4 separate regions of the Homo sapiens genome follow, and all the other regions are linked to region 1. The links are contacts of gene promoters, found by promoter capture Hi-C in blood cells and fetal thymus (Javierre and others, 2016). All regions are on one chromosome and are shown on one strand. The core of a region is centred on a gene start or on the middle of the fragment in contact, and the rest is flanking DNA. Distances in the headings are between cores, read along the strand shown. Region 1 holds the start of NEO1 (neogenin 1). Region 2 overlaps BBS4 (Bardet-Biedl syndrome 4). Region 3 overlaps BBS4 (Bardet-Biedl syndrome 4). Region 4 has its middle 35 kb from the start of ADPGK-AS1.

The links. Contacts are between HindIII fragments. The CHiCAGO score rates a contact against its expected background, and 5 or more counts as called.
Region 2: a fragment that was not itself captured here is called in contact with the fragment with the promoter of NEO1 in region 1 in 1 of 17 cell types (endothelial precursors); the score reaches 5.5 in endothelial precursors.
Region 3: a fragment that was not itself captured here is called in contact with the fragment with the promoter of NEO1 in region 1 in 3 of 17 cell types (total CD4 T cells, non-activated CD4 T cells and naive CD4 T cells); the score reaches 5.6 in total CD4 T cells.
Region 4: a fragment that was not itself captured here is called in contact with the fragment with the promoter of NEO1 in region 1 in 3 of 17 cell types (naive CD4 T cells, activated CD4 T cells and total CD4 T cells); the score reaches 7.4 in naive CD4 T cells.

What each region holds. Positions count from the first base shown.
Region 1 is chr15:73,051,012-73,054,140 of GRCh38, reverse strand. It overlaps NEO1 (neogenin 1), which reads right to left and starts at 1,678. Exons shown (of 29, transcript NM_002499.4): 1 at 1,336-1,678. The coding sequence starts at 1,465. RefSeq lists silencers at 1,359-1,738, 1,969-2,288, 2,379-2,448, 2,509-2,558. The HindIII fragment of the contact is 4,913 bases long and covers 1-3,129 here.
Region 2 is chr15:72,705,335-72,708,463 of GRCh38, reverse strand. The region is part of intron 2 of BBS4 (Bardet-Biedl syndrome 4); the gene reads right to left. Among named protein-coding and RNA genes, the nearest start is that of BBS4, 21 kb to the right of the region's middle. RefSeq lists a silencer at 1,880-2,080. The HindIII fragment of the contact is 538 bases long and covers 1,435-1,972 here.
Region 3 is chr15:72,729,638-72,732,766 of GRCh38, reverse strand. It overlaps BBS4 (Bardet-Biedl syndrome 4), which reads right to left. Exons shown (of 16, transcript NM_033028.5): 10 at 3,083-3,129; 11 at 1,310-1,462; 12 at 1,041-1,212. Among named protein-coding and RNA genes, the nearest start is that of BBS4, 45 kb to the right of the region's middle. The HindIII fragment of the contact is 2,643 bases long and covers 192-2,834 here.
Region 4 is chr15:72,746,134-72,749,262 of GRCh38, reverse strand. No RefSeq gene overlaps it. Among named protein-coding and RNA genes, the nearest start is that of ADPGK-AS1, 35 kb to the left of the region's middle. The HindIII fragment of the contact is 6,810 bases long and covers 1-3,129 here.

The sequences.
Region 1 (3,129 bases), core at 429-2,928:
CATTTCAGCACCAAAATGTGTTCTAAACCATATACGGACTGAATGTATAAGGGTACATCATGACATAAGTGATGTTTAATTTGACATTAAAACACTATTGTTTACGTAGCTGTTTAGAGAATACCGAGTGGTACTTTACGTTTAAAGCTGTTCTTTAACATTGGCAAAAGCCATGAGCTACATACACACTCTGCAAGGAAATGAAAAGTTTATCAGTCAAGTTACCTTGCAGTGTGATTTTAAATATTATTTCATATAAATCAGGGAAAAACAAGTACTGGTTCAGCGGTAAGACTGCTTTCAAATGTAAAAATATCATATCTCACACGAGTGAAAGTTTTGTCAAGTTTTATGGTACACCACCTTGGTCAAATAATTTTAACAGATTACATGCTAATTTGCCTTTCAACTGCTGAGTGTATCCTGCTCAACAATACCGTAAGGTCCTTCCCGGAAGGCTTGGCATTTTTGTTCGTTGGTCCCCTTAATAGGAATGCAGGTGGTTTCAGTAATCTATAATATTCCAAAAAAGAACTGAAAATGGCTTTTGAGGTTCAATGTTTATACAATGCCATCTGAAAACATTGTACAAGTACCTAAAATCTGATGCTTAGACAATTCCCTTGGTTAAGAGTGGTTAATAGGCTGTAAATATAGTTGTAATCCCCAGGAAAGAAGAGGCATTTCATAACGGAAACACTAACAGATACGATCACTCCGAGCCGCTCTCCAAGGCGTCCTCATCGTTAAATCAACACCAGGGGTTGTGAGCGGGCAATTGTGCCCCTCTGACACCCCCGCTCTTCCGCAGACTCGGGCTCCAATCCCCGCGCGAGGAGTCCCTCGAGACTAGCCAGCTCTTCCTCGAGACTTCGGAAGCTGGGAAATCCCTGGCCAGGGAACCAGGAGCTCAAGCCCCCTCCCCTTTCCTTTCCTGAAAATTAATGAATTGGCCGTCTGATTGTTTATTTAATGAGGTGTGTAGTGGCCTCTACTGGTGCTAGTGTGAGCACAAGAATGTCCCACTCTTACAAGTGGGATGAGCCTGGGGGAGGGGAGAGAGGCGAGGGGTGAACCTGCCTCCAGGTACAAAGCTGGGAACTAGACCCCTGCGCCCCCGACCTGCCCCCCGGCAGCCGCCCCTTCCCCGGTGGCGCCCCCTCTCGCCCTTCTCCTCCCCACCACGCGCGATCCCCTTTCTCTTCGGCAACCGGAGCCGAGGCAGAGAAGTTCCTGCACGTTTCCTCCTGGATCCTAAACAAAAACACCGCAGCCGCGGCCGCCTGAGCCGGTGCCGCGCCCCCGCGAACCCCCGGGCCCGCGCCCGCCGCTTACCTGGGGACTGCGGCGCGGAGCCGCTCCTGGCGGCCGCGGCGCCCGGCGCCCGGCGCCCGAGCAGCAGCAGGCAGTAGAGCCAGAAGGAGGGGGTGCTGAGGAGTCGCCGGGCTCCCCGCTCCGCCGCCATCTCTTCCCCGAGAGTGAGCGGCAGCGGCGGCGACAGCGCCGCGGAGCCCTTGCCTCCTTCCCTCCCGCGCGCCTCAGCCGGTCCCTCGCTGCAAGCTCGGCTCCCGCGGCCGCCGCTGCTCCAGCCCAGCCCGGCCCGGCCCGGCCCGCGCAGCCCCTCTCGCTGGAGGGGAGACTCCAGGGCGCCTCCCTCCTGCAAGGGGGCGGGGAGGGGAGGAGAGCGAAGAAGGGGAGTCAGTACATTCCGGGGCGGGGGGGGGGGGGCGGTGGGTCGGTCTCCAGGTTCCAGGCGCCGCCACCCGCCGCCGACTCCGGCTCCACACACCAGCGCGAGGGGGGCGGAGACCGCGGACGGCGGGGGCGGGGGCGGGGGCGGGGGGCGGGAGTCCCGGGCGCGCACACGCGCACGCGCGCGCCTCGCCCGCACCCCCTCGGCTCCGCGCGCGGCCCGCCCCCGCTCCAATCCCGGCTGCCGCCTCTCGGGCCGTGGCGGGCCCGCTCCCCTCCCCCTTCTCCCCGGAGCCGCTGACGGGTGCGGGGCGCGCGCGCCGGGCGCTGCTGCTGGCGTCAGGGAAACCCCGGAGAAGCGGATCCTCCTGCTCCTCCCGCCCGCTCGCCGCAGCCCCTCGGCTCCGCGCGCCCCCGCCTCCTCCTCCTCGCCTCGGGGACAAATTCCCCCCTCACCTCCCCAGATGCCTCTGGCTGCAGAGACCTGAGGGCGAGAGGCGCTCCGAGCTCAGGCTGGTCCGGGAGGCCGGCGTGGGCGCGCACCTCTGCACAGTCCGGGCCTGGAGCCTCTATATAGGGCCTCAGAGGAAACCGAAAGGCCTCCGGGAGGAAACCTGGGTGCGCAGTGGGTCGGCCCGGGGATTTATGTGCTCGCCAAAAACAATAGCGATCCCGCCCGACTCTTGCTGGGCCCTGGCGCGGCTCCCGTGGGAGGGGGCCGGCCGCGCAGCCGCTGACCTCCGGCTCCCAAGCCGGGCCGCCGTCGCCGCGCGCTTCCCCCGGGCAGCGCCGGGACCCGCCCGAACCGCGCCCCCACCCGCATCGCTCGGCCCGGGTCCAGGGAACTAGGCACAGACAAAGGTGCCCGCTGTCCACTTCCTCAGCTCGTGCGGGGGCCCCGACCGAGCCCTGGGACTCCCCGGGGCCAGTCTTCTCGCAGTAACTGCTACGTTTTACCTGTACCTTTGCGGGACACTTGGCGTTTTCCTACCTGGGAATCACGTCTTTCGCTGATAAACCAAGGAGCAAGTGGGATATGATTTTAAACCACTTAGTAATCGTGAGGCAGCACCCAGGCTACACAAAGTTAGGAGAAAGCAGTTTGTAGTTCCACTGCTGATGAGACTATTGATCATTTTATATACTGCACCCATGAAAAATTTTTAAAGAAAATTTATTTGTATGATTATGCAAGCAGAGTCACGTTTGGTGGTTGATAGGCGTTGGGTTTTATTCACTCTTCTGTGTAGTCGATAACCGAAATGTCTTGCTTCCCACAAGAAAATGGCTATTTCACTAACATATCCCTCTGTGCTTTCTCATAGTTACTTTCCAAAGATATTTTATTCTAAAGCGCCAAAATGAACAATGTAAGACATGGATTAACGTCGGGAGGGAAGAGCTCAGAATCTTCATAAAACCTTAAATCATCAAAAC
Region 2 (3,129 bases), core at 454-2,953, 350 kb after region 1:
TCAGCTTACGAAGATAACAGGATTAAGAGATTAAAGACAGGTGTAAGAAATTATAAGAATATTATTTGGGAACTGGTAAGTGTCCATGAAATAATCACAATTTACGTTCCTCTGCCACAGCTCCAGCCGGTCCCTCCGTTTGGGGCCCCTGACTTCCCGCAACAGAAATATACATATAAGATAGTTAATATCACTTCTGGCCAGGTGCAGTGGCTCACGCCTGTAATCCCAGCACTTTGGGAGGCCAAGGCAGGCAGATCACGAGGTCAGAAGATCGAGACCATCCTAGCAAACATGGTGAAACCCTGTCTCTACTAAAAATACAAAAAATTAGCCGGGTGTGGTAACCCGCACCAATAGTCCCAGCTACTTGGGAGGCTGAGGCAGGAGCATCACTTGAACCTGGGAGAAGGAGGTTACAGTGAGCCGAGATCGCGCCACTGCACTCCAGCCTGGTGAAAGAGTGAGACTCCGTCTCAAAAAAAAAAAAAAATCACATCTGATGATCAGAGTACCACAAATATTTTAAATAGTTAAACACAATCTTTAGAAATAGCTCAAATGAGAACATTATGCTGTTGCCCAGAAATGAGAAGTCAACGATGAAAAAAATCTAGTTGAGTCATTGAAAATGGCTCACAATACAGAAACCATAAAATGAGTTACCTGCCCACTGAAATCAGAAGTTTAAAATATGGTCAAATTCATTAAGAATTACTTTTCTGTGGTAACAAGGAGTAGAAAGATCCAAATTAACCCAAGAATAGTGAAGATCTCAAGGAAGGAAGAGGGAAGAACAGAATTATGAAAAGACAGAAAGGAGACTTCAACTCTTTAATGCCTATTTCTCAAAAAAATAAAAAGCTTTAAAGTAAACATGACTAAATGTTTTTTATTAAGCCTAGCCAGTGAGTACATGTGTGTTTATATTATTTTTTGTGAATTTTAATATGTTGGAGACAGTCCTTTTTAAAAATGGAAAAGAGGCCAGATGTGGTGGCTCATGCCTATAATCCCAGCACTTTGGGAGACCGAGGAGGGCAGATCATTTGAGTCCAGGAGTTTGAGGTCAGCCTGGACAACATGGTGAAACCCCATCTCTACAAAAAAATACAAAAATTAGCAGGGTGTGGTGGCGCATCCTGACATCCCAGCTACTAGGGAGGCTTGGGCACCAGAATCACTTGAACCTGGTGCGGGGAGGTTACAGTGAGCCAAGATCATGACACTGTACTCCAGCCTCGGCCAAAGAGCAAGATTCTGTCTCCAAAAAAAAAAAAAGAAAAGAAAAAAGGAAAAGAAAGGGAAGAGCATGGGGAAGAGAGGAAAATGACTGTAATCCATTTCTTGATGTTCTGCAACCTAAGGAGAAACAATCTAAAGAAAACCAAAAAACTTCTATGTCCATAATATGACAGGAAGAAAAAAAAAGCTTACTGTGACTCAGAGTTAATGTTGCCTGAACACAAAAATTAAAAGGTACAACCAGACACACTGGCTCACAACTGTAATCCCAGCGCTTTGGGAGGCTGAGGCAGGAGGATCAGTTGAGCCCAGAAATTTGATACCAGCCTGGGCAATACAGCAGGACCCTCATTTCAACAAAAAATTTAATTTTTTTAAAAAAATAAAAAAGAAGTAATGCTGCTCATTGCTATCCAAGAATAGGGATTATCAATGGAATTTGTAAGAAGAAATTATAACAGAAAGTATGGATATGACTTTACATGCCAGGAACAAGAAAAAAAGTAAAATTTTAAGCAACTGACTCTTCATTTTCTGACTACACACATTTTCTTAGTAGAACCACCCTTCTAGTCGTTGGGGCCGATCTGAAATTCTTCTAAGACTTGTGTTTCCTTTCTTTTCTTCCCCTAGGCTTCACCAATGACCAGACCTTAGCCATTCACATCCTACTTAACCACTTCCAGAATCAAATCTCCTTCGAAAAAGCCACACGAGTCACCAAGCTTAAAGACATGTGAGTGTGTTAAGTGCATAAAGTGCACCGTCATAAATAGTTCCAGGGTCCGGGGGTGGTGACTCACGCCTGTAATCCTAGCATTTTGGGAGGTCCACGCAGGTGGATCATGAGGTCAGGAGATCGAAACAATCCTGGCTAACACAATGAAACCAAGTCTCTACTAAAAATACAAAAAATTAGCCGGGAGTGGTGGCGGGCACCTATAATCCCAGCTACTCGGGAGGCTGAGGCAAAAGAATCGCTTGAACCCAGGAGACGGGGGTTGCAGTGAGCCAAGATCACACCACTGCACTCCAGCCTGGGCGACAGAGCGAGACTCCATCTCAAAAATAAGTAAATAAATAAATAGTTCTGGGACAAGTAGCTTACTAAGTCATCTTGGACCAAGTCTCAACTGCATGACCCAGTCCTCTGTCACCTATCTACTAAAGGGAAAGAGTAAAAGAGAATGAGGCACTGAACCCTTTTGAGTTTATACTAAGTATTACAAACCTTAGATACTTAGTATATCACTAAGTAGTCTAAAAGAAAATTTATAAAATGTTAATTTTCAAGTCTTAGCTGTTATTAAAATCTCACAATAAAAGACAATCAGGGCTAGCTATAGTGGTTTACGCCTGTAACCCCAGCACTTTGGGAGGCCCAGGTGGACGGATCACTTGAGTCCAGCACTTCAAGGCCAGCCTGGACAAACCCCATCTCTACAAAAAATACAAAAAAATTAGCCAGGAGTGGAGGCACAAGCCTGTAGTCCCAGCTACTCAGGAGGCTGAGTTAGGAGGATTGCTTGAGCCTGGGAGGCAGAGGTTGCAATGAACCATGATTGTGCACTGCACTCCAACCTGGGTGACAGAGTGAGACCCAGTCTCAAAAAAAAAAAAAAAAAAAAAAAGGACAAGCCATGTTTTGTGTTTCTTGAGTGAAAGCTGGAGAAAAAAGTGTTCAATTTGTAAGGTAGCTCAAGAACCCAAACGCTCATTAAATGGAACTCTAGGGATTAGAAAAAGGAAAATCCACCAAATCCAGTGCTGAAGGTCATTTCACACTCTTGGAGATGTAGCTGTCCAAAAGCTAATTTTCGTTCCATCAAATATTTTAGAGAACATTTCAGTGTACACAACTGTCCTATTACCAAATGTGTGACC
Region 3 (3,129 bases), core at 264-2,763, 320 kb after region 1:
CCCCATGTGGCCCTGCACGGTGTAGCATGCCCTCCTTCTCAGGAATTGTAACAGACTATCTTTCCAGTGGCAGATGTCTTCTGATCTGTTGCCCATACCATATCTGAATAATAATAAAACCTATGTTTTTTTTTTAAAGTTATCTTTGTATTCAGGCAACCCTCAAATAACCACAATTGCTTTTGCAAGCTTTCTCTTTTAAATAAGAACCCACAGTAATGAACAAAAAGCCACTGGAAGACGACTGCCAAATGAGGACATGGAAATCTGCTTTGGGTCTTACATTTAGTAAGTAAATGTATATGGAGAAAAAAATTCCTAGAAAGACTAGTCAGTACTTTAAAATGGTTGTGCATAATTGTTAAAGTGTTTGATTAATTTTAACTTATTTTTATGATCAATTTTAGTATTTGCATGGCATAAAATGGAGTTTCAGGAAGAGAATGGCATTCTATATAACATGCTCAGAAGAGATAAGGGTTTCAACATAAGGTAGCTTGACTTGGAAGTATCACCTAGGGGCCAATTATAGTAACAACAATATTGATAATAATAGACCAATTATATAACCACAGTAAAACCAACAGTTTTCAAAAATCAGTATTTCAACAAAACCAGTATTATTAATTGAGAGCTTAATCATGCAATCCTCACATCAGCCCTAGGTACATATAATAAGTAGTAGAGGCAGGACCCTACCTAAAACCCAAGCTCTTAACACTTGCTGTCTGGAACTTAGTTGGACTCAATATATACATAAATGAATTGTCAAGGCAAGAGGAAAAAACTGGTAAAAGGTGAACTAGGGATGATCTTTATTTAACCTGTTGGTCTCTGAGTCAAACTCCCCCAAGTTAGAAACAACCAAGTTCCTTTGTCATCTTTTTCTATTTCTTCAAGCTCCAGGACAGTAATCCAGATTCCTACAGGATCTCTAAGGGAATGGCTCCTATGAGACAGCCACTGATCTTCTATGATTCTAATCCATTTTTCCCTCATTACAGATGGCAGAGAGAGTTTTCCACATAAATGTTTCTTACCTGCCAAGAGCATGTAGAGCTCCCCCATCTTTGGCTGGAAGTTGATGGCCGCACTGAGAAAATGAAAAGCTGATGCATACTGCTGCATGGTCAAATGGACAAGGCCCAAATTATACAGAATCTTCCAATCAAAGGGTGCCAAGTAGTTGGCTCGTTTCAGGCAGCTGATGGCCTATGAGAGAGAAGGGGCACTCAATGAGAAGGGCAAGCTAAACAGACCCAATAACCACATGTAGAAATACAAACAAAGAACATGAGGGGACACTCACCGCCACATATTTCTTCTTGCCAAAGAAACACATTCCAATGTTATTCCAGAGTGGAGGACTTTCTGGAACAGCACAAGCCACAACTCTGTATTTGGTGAGGGCAACATCAAAGTCCCCGTGGGTCTGCATCATGCTGCCTGCTGCCAAGATGGCCTGAAAACATGGCACAGAGAAAGTCATTCAGTCATTCCCAAAAGGCTGTAGCAGTGGGGCAGCTTTCCTGAGTCTATACTCAGCAGGCCCATCAGCATAGATGGGACTGGAAAATTTCTTCCAGGGACATAAATATATCCAACCTATTGGGACAAATGTTCCTGAGGAATGTCCTTGCACTCTACACTGTGGCTCTCTGGCACAGCACAAAAAAAAAAAAAAAAAAAAAAAAAAAAAAAGATAAAATGTTACTTGCTTTACCCATCTGTTTCCTACTTCTAGCCAGGAAAGTCAGTATTTCAGAATGAATACCAGAGCCCTTTAAGTAAAAACTTCCTTTAATCTGTTCTCTGCAGCCCCTATTTGGTATACCAAGTGTTCTAGATACCTGAAATACACCTGTACGTGGCTACTTAAGGTAAATTTCTTTCTACCGTAGAACAGAGGGCGAGTCAGCTTTAGGCTTCATCAGCCCAGCCCTTTCATTTCTCTAAGGAAAGGTATCAAGGTGGGAGCTGACAGTCTAATGTTACTTCCTAAATCAGAATTCAGTTTGTATCCTTTAATAAACAGCTTGTCTTGCTGCATCTCCTCAATGATGTTCATCCATTTGATGCTATTCCTTCTCATTCCCAAAGTCACATCTAGAAAAAAAGTTGTAGTATCAAATCATTAGGACTCTAGAAGTCATTTCAACATAATTATTGTTTCTTTTTAGAGACAGGGTCTCTGTCACCCAGGCTGGAGTATAGTGGTGCCATCATAGCCCACTGTAGACTCAAACTCCTGGGCTCAAGTGATCTTCCCTCTTCCACCTTCCGAGTGGCTAGGACTACAGGTGTGTGCCACCATGCCTGGATAATTTTTTTTGTAGAAATGGGGGTCTCACTATGTGGCCCAGCCTGGTCTTGAACTCCTGGCCTCAAGTGATCCTCCTGCCTCAGCATTCCAAAGTGCTGGGATTACAGGCATAAGCCACCATGCCCAGCAGATTTATTTTTTTTATTTTTTATTTTTTTTTTTTTTGAGACAGAGTCTCGCTCTGTCACCCAGGCTGGAGTGCAGTGGCGCGTGATCTCAGCTCACTGCAAGCTCTGCCTCCCGGGTTCACGCCATTCTCCTGCCTCAGCCTCCCGAGGAGCTGGGACTACAGGCGCCCGCCACCACGCCCGGCTAATTTTTTTGTATTTTTAGTAGAGACGGGGTTTCACTGTGTTAGCCAGGATGGTCTCGATCTCCTGACCTCGTGATCTGCCCACCTCAGCCTCCCAAAGTGCTGGGATTACAGGCGTGAGCCACCGCGCCGGGCCGCAGATTTATTTTTGACAATAGTTGTGGAGGCATTGCTAATTTCCTAAGTAACACATAAGCTTTACTAGCACTATGATCTGCCTTCTGCAGGGGTTACACGTCTATTATAACAAATGTGCACTTTTAGAAGATAAGTAGAGCATACTTGACACTATTTTCAAATAAGAAGAGCCACCTTTTATTTATATTTTTTCTATTTCTCAGGTATCCAAATTTAAGAAGCTATTCCTTTGCTTTCCAGGGTCAGATCACCTCTAGGAGCAGTGGGACCGTCTATATGAAGGCCAGAGCCTTCACAGCCTGTAATACCTTGTAGTTGGTAGGGTCATAAGTCAGTGCATTGCCAAGATGTTCAA
Region 4 (3,129 bases), core at 453-2,952, 300 kb after region 1:
CTCGGCTCACTGTAAATTCCACCTCCCAGGTTCAAGCGATTCTCCTGCCTCAGCCGCCCTAGTAGCTGGGATTACAGGTGCCTGCCACTAGACCTGGCTAATTTTTGTATTTTTTGTAGAGATGGGGTTTTACCATGTTGGCCAGGTAACGGTCAGGCGCGGTCTCTACTAAAAATACAAAAATTAGCTGGGTGTGGTGGTGGGTGCCTGTAATCCCAGCTACTGGGGAGGCTGAGACAAGAGAACTGCTTGAGCCCATGGGGCAGAGGTTGGAGTGAGCCAAGATCATGCACTTCTGCCTGGGCAGCACAGCCAACTCTGTCTCAAAAAAAAAAAAAAAAAAAAAAGATTCAGAATGGACAGCCCCAAGCACATTGTCTGAGTTAGTCTTGATCTGCAAGGAGCAGCAAAAATGAAAAGTCTCCATCACCCTAGATAGTTCCTTCATGCCACTTCCAAGTCATCCCCACCGCATACCTCAAGCCCCAGAACAACCAGTTATTTTCCACCAGAAATCAGTTTTGCCTGTTTTCAGAATGCAACTTAAAAATGGAGCCATTCAGTATTTAGTCCTTTGTATAGAGCTTCTTCCATTTAGCATAGTATTTTTTAGAGTAATCCATGTTGCATGTAGTTGGTTGCTTTTTATAGCTAGATAGTACTCCACTGTGAGTACAGAGCATTCCACTTTGGAATTATTATGAATAAAGCTGCTGTCAACAAGTGTTTGTGTAGACGTACTGTCATTTCTCTTGGGTAAAGGCCTATAGGAGGGAAATTGCTGGGTGAAAGGCCTTTTTTCTAAAATGGTTGGACCATTTACACTCCCTAAAACAGCATATGACAGTTGTGGTTGCTTTTCTTCCCCACAACCATCTGGAGTTGTCAATGTTTAATTTTACCCATTTTGACAGGTATACAGTGGTATTTCAGCATGGATTCAATTTGTATTTCCCTAATGACATATGAGCACTTTTTCATGTGCTTTATTGACTATTCATATATCTTTCTTTGTGAAGTGTCCAAATCTTTTGCCTTTTTCTCCCCCAGTTGAGTTGTTTGCTTTGTGTATGTTGTTTGGGTTGTTAGGTTTTTTTGAGTAATAAGAGTTGCATCCAAAATGTTTGGATACAAGTCCTTTGTCAGATATGTTTTGTACTTTCTCCAAGTCTGTGGTTTGATATCCTTTTTCTTAATGTCTTAATGTTCTCTATGCCCAAAGAAATATTGGACCATGCCCATGTCACAAATATAGTCTCACTTTGTATATAAAATGTGTAAGTTTTTATCATGTACAGCATGTTTTGAAATATGTATATATTACCTTTACATTAGCTGTAGGTATATAGCTATATTGAGCTAATTATGCATTGTCTCAGTTTTTTGTGGTGAGAACACTTGAAATCTTCTGTTGGCAATTTTCAATAACTTTTTCTTCTTTAAATTCTTTTGTATTGTATTTTTATATACTAGGAAATTTTCAATAATACATTAAGTAGAGTCACCGTGTTGTACATCTCCCCAACCCCTGCCCCTAGATTGCTTTTCCATACAGCTATCCAGTCGTTCCAGTAACATTGGTTGAAAAGACTTTTCCCATTGCATTGCTTTGGTACCTTTATCAAAAATCAAATGACTGTATAACTGTAAGGTCTATGTATGCACTCACTTCTGTTTTATTGCTCTATTTGTCTATCTTTATGCCAGTGCTACATGAGCACTATTATAGTAAGTCTTGAAGTAAGGCAGTGTAAGTCTTCCAATTTTGGTTTTTTTCCATGATTGCTTTACATGTTCTTGGTCCTTTGTGTTTCCATAACATTTTAGAGCCAGCTTGTCAAGTCAATTTCTACCCCAAAACCTGCTGGGATTATGATAGGATCTATAGATGAATTTCGGAAGAATTTTTATCTTAACAGTATTTAGTCGTACAATGCATGAACATGATATATATTTCTATAATGGCCTTCTGTTTCACACCAGTGCTTTTGCCGTTTTCAGAGTAGAGGTCTTAACGTGTAGTCTGTTAAATTCCTAAGTATTTCGTATCAATAGTATTTGACACTTTTGTGATTTTTTTTATTTTCAAAATTGTTCCTTGTATATAAAAATACAATTGATTTTTGTACATTGACTGTATCTTGTGACCCTGCCAAATCCACTTGGGTGTAGTCACTTTTATTTTAATAATTTATTTTTAGGATTCCTTAGGATCTTCCACATAATCATGTCATCTGTAAAGAGTTTTATTTCTTCCTTTCTAGTCTTTATGCCTTTTTATTTCTTGCCTTATTGCACTGGCCAGAACTCTAGTCCAGTATAAGGCTGAATAGAAGTGGTAAGAGCAAACATCTTTGCCTTGGTCCTGATCTTAGGGGCAAAGTAGTCAATATTTCACTAAATATGATATCCATTGCATTTTTTTTCTCATGGATGCCCTTCATCAGGTTGAAGATGTTCCCATCTATTCTTTATTTGCTGAGAATTTTTATGATTTTGTTTTGTTTTTACTTTCTCAGGGGCTGAGAAGGGTATTGAAGTTTTAGGTTCATAGGAAATTGAGGAAATACAGACACTTGCCATATACCAGCTGCCCCAACACATGCATAGCCTCTTCCCTCCCTATCAACATCTCCCACAAGAACATGTAAAGCAAACATCTCCCACATTTGTTACAACTGATGTATATATACGGACACATCTTTATCACCCAAAGTCCATAATTTACTTTTGGCTTCAGTCTTGTACATTCTGTGGCTTTGGACAGAGTCTCACTCTGTCACCCAGGCTGGAGCACAGTGGCACAATCTTGACTCACTGCAACTTCCACCTCCTGGGTTCAAGCCATTCTCCTGCCTCAGCCTCCTGAGTAACTGGAATTACAGGTGTGCGCCACCATGCCCGGCTAATTTTTGTATTTTTAGTAGAGACGGGGTTTTGCCAGGTTGGCCCGGCTGGTCTGAAACTCCTGACCTCAGGTGATCTGCCCACCTCAGCCTCCCAAAGTGCTGGGATTACAGGCATGAGCCACCACACCTGGCCTGGACAAATATATTAATATAACAACATGCATCCACCACTATGGTATCACACAGGGTAATTTCACTGCCCTAACAACCCTCTGTGCTC